Linked DNA regions of Homo sapiens: region 1 is linked to region 2. The links are contacts of gene promoters, found by promoter capture Hi-C in human tissues and cell types (Jung and others, 2019). All regions are on one chromosome and are shown on one strand. Each heading gives the region's core, a stretch centred on a gene start or on the middle of the fragment in contact. The rest is flanking DNA. Distances are from core to core; before and after follow the strand shown. Region 1 overlaps TMUB2 (transmembrane and ubiquitin like domain containing 2). Region 2 holds the start of FZD2 (frizzled class receptor 2).

Region 1 (2,886 bases), core at 1-2,500, 360 kb after region 2:
AAAAAGAAATCCCATCTGAGCCTGGTAGGGACTGCCTCCGGCCTAGGTTCCAACAAGAAGAAGAAGCCAAAGCCACCGGCACCCCCGACGCCCAGCATCTATGATGACATCAACTGACTTGGGTGCAAGGGATAGCCTTTGGCTGAGCAGAGCCCTCTCTCCTGACCCCCACCCAGGTGGCATAGCCTGGCAAATGGACGGCTGCTGGGGGTTGGGGCTTGGGAAGCTTGGTGGGCCAGGCAGGCAGAGGATCCGATTATGCGCCCCTGGGGGGTGTCAAAGTCCTCTGCAATGGAGCACGACTCCTCGGCGTGCAGGACTCAGACCTGGACATATTATGCCTTGGACATAAGTTTGGTGGGGAGGCGGTTTTCCTATTTATTCTGTGAGTTACTGGATGTCCAGCTAGGCCAGGGGCCTGACCTGGGCACTGTGCCAGGGCACTGCCTGCCCCCCACCCCAGGAACTGGACTAAGCCCTGCTGAGGGGCAATGTGGCGACCCGGGAGGCTGTGGGTTGGAAGCTGAGCCTGGAGGGGGCCTGCCTCGGCCGCCCTCAGCAATGTGAATGGGTCCGGTGCTTGGAGCTGAGGGGCAAGGCTGGGCATGTCCTGTCTGTGTGCAGAATCTTATCAAATGCCCCCAGTCCCAGGGGTAGGCAGGCACAGAGTGCTGTCTGCTGAGGTGGGCGTCCAGAACTGCCGCCACCTTCCCTGCCCCTCACAGGGGCAGCCCTTTCCCCTCAGTCCCCATGGGCCTCCTTGGCAGCAGGAGCTGTCCTTTTGTTGGGTGCCAGGAAAGGGCCTCCAGCCTCTACAGCTTCAAGGAATGGGAAAGGGAGGGTAGGAAGAGGGAGAAGTGTCAGAATTCCTCCCCCTGCCTCTCCTCCCTGACCCAGGGCTGGTGAGGAGTGGGGCCCCAAGGTGAGAGGGAACGGTGCTGCTTTATTTGAAATGTTTTCTTACCTCATTCCCTGCCCCAGGAAGGGACCCAGCCTCACCCTCCTGGGGTGGCCCCGTGTTCCTCCTGCCCACCCTGCCCCACTGCCCTACCGGGGCAGCCCAGGTTCCCAACTGCTGCTTCCACCCCCTTCACCTTGACTGGCTTCAGTTCCTCTCAGCGCTCCTGCCTCCAAAGCGTGCCCTGTTTCCCTTCCTTAGCGCTTTTAAGTTATTTATTCTGTACTTGTGGTTTGGGGCTCTGAGGAAAATCCTAATCTTGTGCCTCTCCCCCTTTGCTAGGAGTTGGGTGGGAAGAGAGGGTGGCCTCTGTGCCCCAGGTTGTCAGTGGAGGGGAAGGGGTGTCACTGCCCCTCTGTGGGACTGTCATGCCAGTGTGCCCACCTGCCTGGTCTACATCCTAAAGAGATGTACCGTCCCCCCTCCATGCGGGCACCACCACTCCCAGGAGCCAAGCTGGAGGACCGCGACCTGGGCTGGGAGCAGAGCTGACTGACATGGGTGGAGGTGACCCTGAGCCAAGTTCTCTGGCACTTGCTGGACATGTCCCCTACCCTCTTCCCAAGAGGAGCCATCCCACATTTGGGTAGTTAGTACCCAGGACTGGTTGGACTGATCGGGTTAGGGACCCTAGAGGGTTAAGGGAACAACAGAGATGGGGCTGCAATGCCCTGTCTGGAACTCCGCTCTCCCGCTGGGGTGGTTCTGATTGTGGCTCATGCCTGGTTGCAAATTGGTTTTTAACCCACAAATTGTGATTATTTTTTAAAAAGCCAAACAGATTTTGGCAGGAGTTAGAATAAATCCCGGGGCCTGGGCTTCTCTATTCTTGGCCCTCCGTAGTCTCCCTCCGAGAGGAGGCCAGAGGGAGAGGAGGATCTCAGCAGGCCTCTAGCCGCTTCCAGATGCAGTCTGGGGAGTGGGCTGAAGGTGAAGGGAGGAAGGCTGTGGGCCACTCTCCCTTCTGAGAGGCAGCTGCAGCTCAGGCCCTAATACACTCTTTGCCCTGTGGCCTCTCCCTTTTCCCCCCTTCTGGTTGGAGGAGGGAGAAGTGGGAAGTAGCTTGGGAACTGGTTTGTCCACATAAACTTCCCCATTGTTCCTTGGCCCGCCCTCAGGGCAGAGCCCCCTGCCCAGGCTGGGTAAGAGATGGGCTTGGTCCAGCAGGGACCCTGAGGGAACAAACCCTTTTCCTTCTGGGGAGAGAGTGCCCCCCCTACCATGTAGTTGAACAGGGGCTAGGAGCTCCCCACTCCCCTCCCTCTAACAGCAGGCTGTGTGGGTTTCAATTCCCATCCTTCCCACCCCGGCTAGGTGTCGTCCACCCTGTATCCTGTGTCTGAGTGTGTGTGGGGGGGTTCTGTACTAATTTCCATGGCCGGTGGCTTTTCCTTCCATGCATCACTCCCCCCCGCATGCCCAGGGGCCACCCGCCTGGCATTACCGCATGCTGGGGTCATTGGGGGAGGGGGGTGGGGCTCACGCTGTCCTGTGGTCTTGAGATTTTTATTTTTGCATATGTAATCCATTCTGTACAGGTAGCTAACTTTGTAAACGCTGTGTATTCCCTCTGCCCCCATGGCTGCTGGTGTAAATAAACTGCATCTCCCGTTGGTAGCCCCGGCCTACCTACTCTCATTACCATTTTCCTGGGGGCAGCGCAAAGCCATTCTCTGTCACAGAAAGAGGCTGCAGGACCACAAAATGGAACTTTATTCAGTCACAGACACTGACCCTCCAATAGCCCCAGAAGCAAGAGCCTAGGGCCCAGCAATCCATACCCAGTCCTTGGAGTTGGGCAGGGTAGGACGCTGGCCAAGGGCCAGTGCTGTCTCTTGCTTACAGCCTGAGGACTACGGGAGCAGCAGCTGTGGCCTGGCCGCTCCCAATGCTGGGGGCTTGGCTTGGTGCCCCATCCCCTTCCTGAC
Region 2 (2,899 bases), core at 395-2,894:
TAGCAAGCGATGACGATGGTGGCGGGCACTGTGTAGAGCACGGAGAAGACGCCGATGCGCACCATGAGCCGCTCCAGCTTTTCGGTCTTGGTGCCGTCGTGCTTCATGATGGTGCGGATGCGGAAGAGCGACACGAAGCCGGCCAGGAGGAAGGACGTGCCGATGAACAGGTACACGAAGAGCGGCGCTAGCACGAAGCCCCGCAGCGGGTCCAGGCTGTTGAGGCCTACGAAGCACACGCCGCTCAGCAGGTCGCCGTCGATCTGGCCCATGGCCAGGATGGTGATGGTCTTGACGGCCGGCACGGCCCAGGCGGCCAGGTGGAAGTACTGAGAGTTGGCCTCGATGGCCTCGTGGCCCCACTTCATGCCGGCTGCCAGGAACCAGGTGAGCGACAGGATGACCCACCAGATGGAGCTGGCCATGCTGAAGAAGTAGAGCATCATGAAGAGGATGGTGCAGCCCTCCTTCTTGGTGCCCTGCACCACCGTGCGGTAACCGTCCTCGGAGAAGCGCTCGTTGCACACCACGCGCTCCTGGAGCACGAAGCCCGCGATGTAGGCCACCGACACCATGGTGTAGCAGCCCGACAGAAAAATGATAGGCCGCTCTGGGTAGCGGAAGCGCTGCATGTCTACCAAGTACGTGGTGACAGTGAAGAAGGTGGAAGCGCAGCACAGCACCGACCAGGTGAGGATCCAGAGGCGCGCGAAACGCGTCTCCTCCTGTGAGAAGAACATGGAACCATCGGGCCGCGCAGGTTCGCAGGGCGCAGCACAATCACGCTCGCCCAGAAACTTGTAGCTGAGATAGGATGGCACCTTGAGGACGCGCGGGCAGTGGAAGGGGTGCTCCAGCGTGGCGTAGCGCGGGGGAGCGCCGCCGCCGCCCGGGCCACCCGGGGTGCCCCCGGCACCCGGCTGCAGTCCCGGCGGCGGCGCGGTGGTGAGTAGCGCGGGAGCTCCGTCCTCGGAGTGGTTCTGGCCGACGCAGATCTGCTCGGCGCCGTGGCGCGGGAAGTGCTCGCAGCGCAGGCGCTCGGGCCACTGAAAACCGAACTTGTTCATGAGGGCTTCGCAGCCCTGGCGCGCGCGCTCACAGATAGAGCGGCACGGCGGGATGGCCTGTTCCAGCACGGTGCACACGGGTGCGTACATGGAGCACAGGAAGAAGCGCAGTTCGGGCGAGCACTGCACCTTCACCAGCGGATAGAACTGGTGCACCTCTAGGCCTGCGTCCTCCTGGTTCGTGTGGCCCAGAAGGTTGGGCATGATGGTCTGGTTGTAGGCGATGTCCGTGCACAGCGGGATGGAGATGGGCTGGCAGAAGCCGTGGTCCGGGATGGAGATGCCCTTCTCCCCGTGGAACTGGGCCGGCCCGGCGGCGGGCAGCAGCAGCAGCGGCAGCAGCAGGCGGGGCAGGGCGCTGCGGGGCCGCATGCTGGCCGCCGCCCCCCACCCGGCTCCTTGGCGCCCCCCCCGCCCCCGCCCCCAACCCGGAGACTGCGCTTCTTCCCCGCCGCCTCCTCGCTGCGGCTGCCGCCTCCCGCGCCTCTTTGCAAACTTTACTCGCGGCCGCAGAGTTGGGGAGGCCGGGCGGGGGAGGGGGCGGTGCGCCTGCCCGCTTGCTTGCCGCGGTCGGACTGAGCAGCCGGAGACACCGCGCGCTGCTGCCCTCTCTCCTCTTCCTCCTCCTCTCGCCTCTCAGCTCCCCCTCTCCCCTCCCTTCTGCACCCAGCGACTTCTTTGTGCCTCCTCCAGCCCTCACCTCGGCCTCTCCGATCCCAATTAGTCGGTTTCAAGGGGGCCCCCGCTGGCGGCCCCGCCCTCTCCTCAGCCCCCCAAAAAAGGGATCCTTGAAACCGCCCCGTCGAGCTCTAAGCACCAACCCAAAATGTGCTCTCGGCCAATCAGATTTAAACCCGAGGACCAGGCCCGAGGGCTGGATTGGTCGACCACAACATAATGAGATCAGAAACCAGATGCCAACAAAACTTTCCCCCCCTTTTGCTTTTTAAAGAGACAAGCTATTATTATATTAAGGGCTGTTTGCCCAGCCCGGGATTTCTCCGGAGTTGCCGCGGCGAGATCGGGGGACACTACTCGACCCTGGCTCACTCCTCTTCCCGGGCCGAGGTGCTCTGCCGGGTGGGGACTCTTTAAACCCTTGCCCCCGCCCCCGATCCTCGAACCCCACCTATTCCTAGTCCAATTTTTCAAATCGAGTGAAAAATCTCAAATTTAAAAATTAAAACAGACTTTAAAAAAACTAACAATTTACAAAGACCTTTTCTGTCCGCTCTTTCTGGAGCCCAGGCGAAAGTTTCACTTCACTTTACACGTAGATCCCTCGCCCTCCCCCTCCACACACCCTTAAAAAACCCTCTGAAAAATGGGATCCTGTCTCTTTAAGAGACTCTTAAAGGGACCAGGACTCCGAGGCGTAATTGCCCCGTAGCCAACACAAAGGAGCCCATTATGGTTCTTTGTGTTCGGTGGCACCTCAAAGTGAGAAAACTCAGGAACTCGGAGGCCCGGAGCTGGAGGGTTGGGGCGGGGGGCTTGGAGGGAGCGAGGGAAAGGAGAATGGCCCGGAGCTGCGGCTTCTCCCTCCCGCTTCTTCTGCGGCAAATCTTAATTGTGCAAAGTAAAGTTTAGTTGCCCTAAGGAGGAGGTCTTAATCGAAAGTTAATGGTGGGGGGCGGGGGGTGACGGGCAATTTTGAGTGAAGGGACGACTCTCTTAGGCCTGACGAACGTTTGAGGGAATTTTCCTTCTGCCTCCCCACCTCTACCTCCGCCCCCTAAAAGCTTCCAGATCCCGTCTCCAGGGCGAGAGGGGAGTTTTACCCAAATCTTAAGTGGTTCCACACCAGAGAGGGGTGGCGTGTGTGACGCGGG

What was found. The method cuts DNA at HindIII sites, captures the fragments that hold promoters and counts their contacts. A contact is called where the count stands out against the background at its distance.
Region 1: a fragment that was not itself captured here is called in contact with the fragment with the promoter of FZD2 in region 2 in 1 of the 25 tissues and cell types used here (stomach).

The regions. Positions count from the first base shown.
Region 1 is chr17:44,191,494-44,194,379 of GRCh38, reverse strand. TMUB2 (transmembrane and ubiquitin like domain containing 2) reads right to left here. Exons shown (of 4, transcript NM_001076674.3): 4 at 2,451-2,886. ATXN7L3 (ataxin 7 like 3) reads left to right here. Exons shown (of 13, transcript NM_001382309.1): 13 at 1-2,575. The coding sequence ends at 117. Among named protein-coding and RNA genes, the nearest start is that of ATXN7L3-AS1, 5.9 kb to the left of the region's middle. The HindIII fragment of the contact is 9,798 bases long and covers 1-2,886 here.
Region 2 is chr17:44,556,229-44,559,127 of GRCh38, reverse strand. FZD2 (frizzled class receptor 2) reads right to left here and starts at 1,644. Exons shown (of 1, transcript NM_001466.4): 1 at 1-1,644. The coding sequence starts at 1,439. RefSeq lists silencers at 898-947, 1,193-1,439, 1,838-1,937 and enhancers at 434-1,394, 1,612-2,379, 2,380-2,899. The HindIII fragment of the contact is 9,533 bases long and covers 1-2,899 here.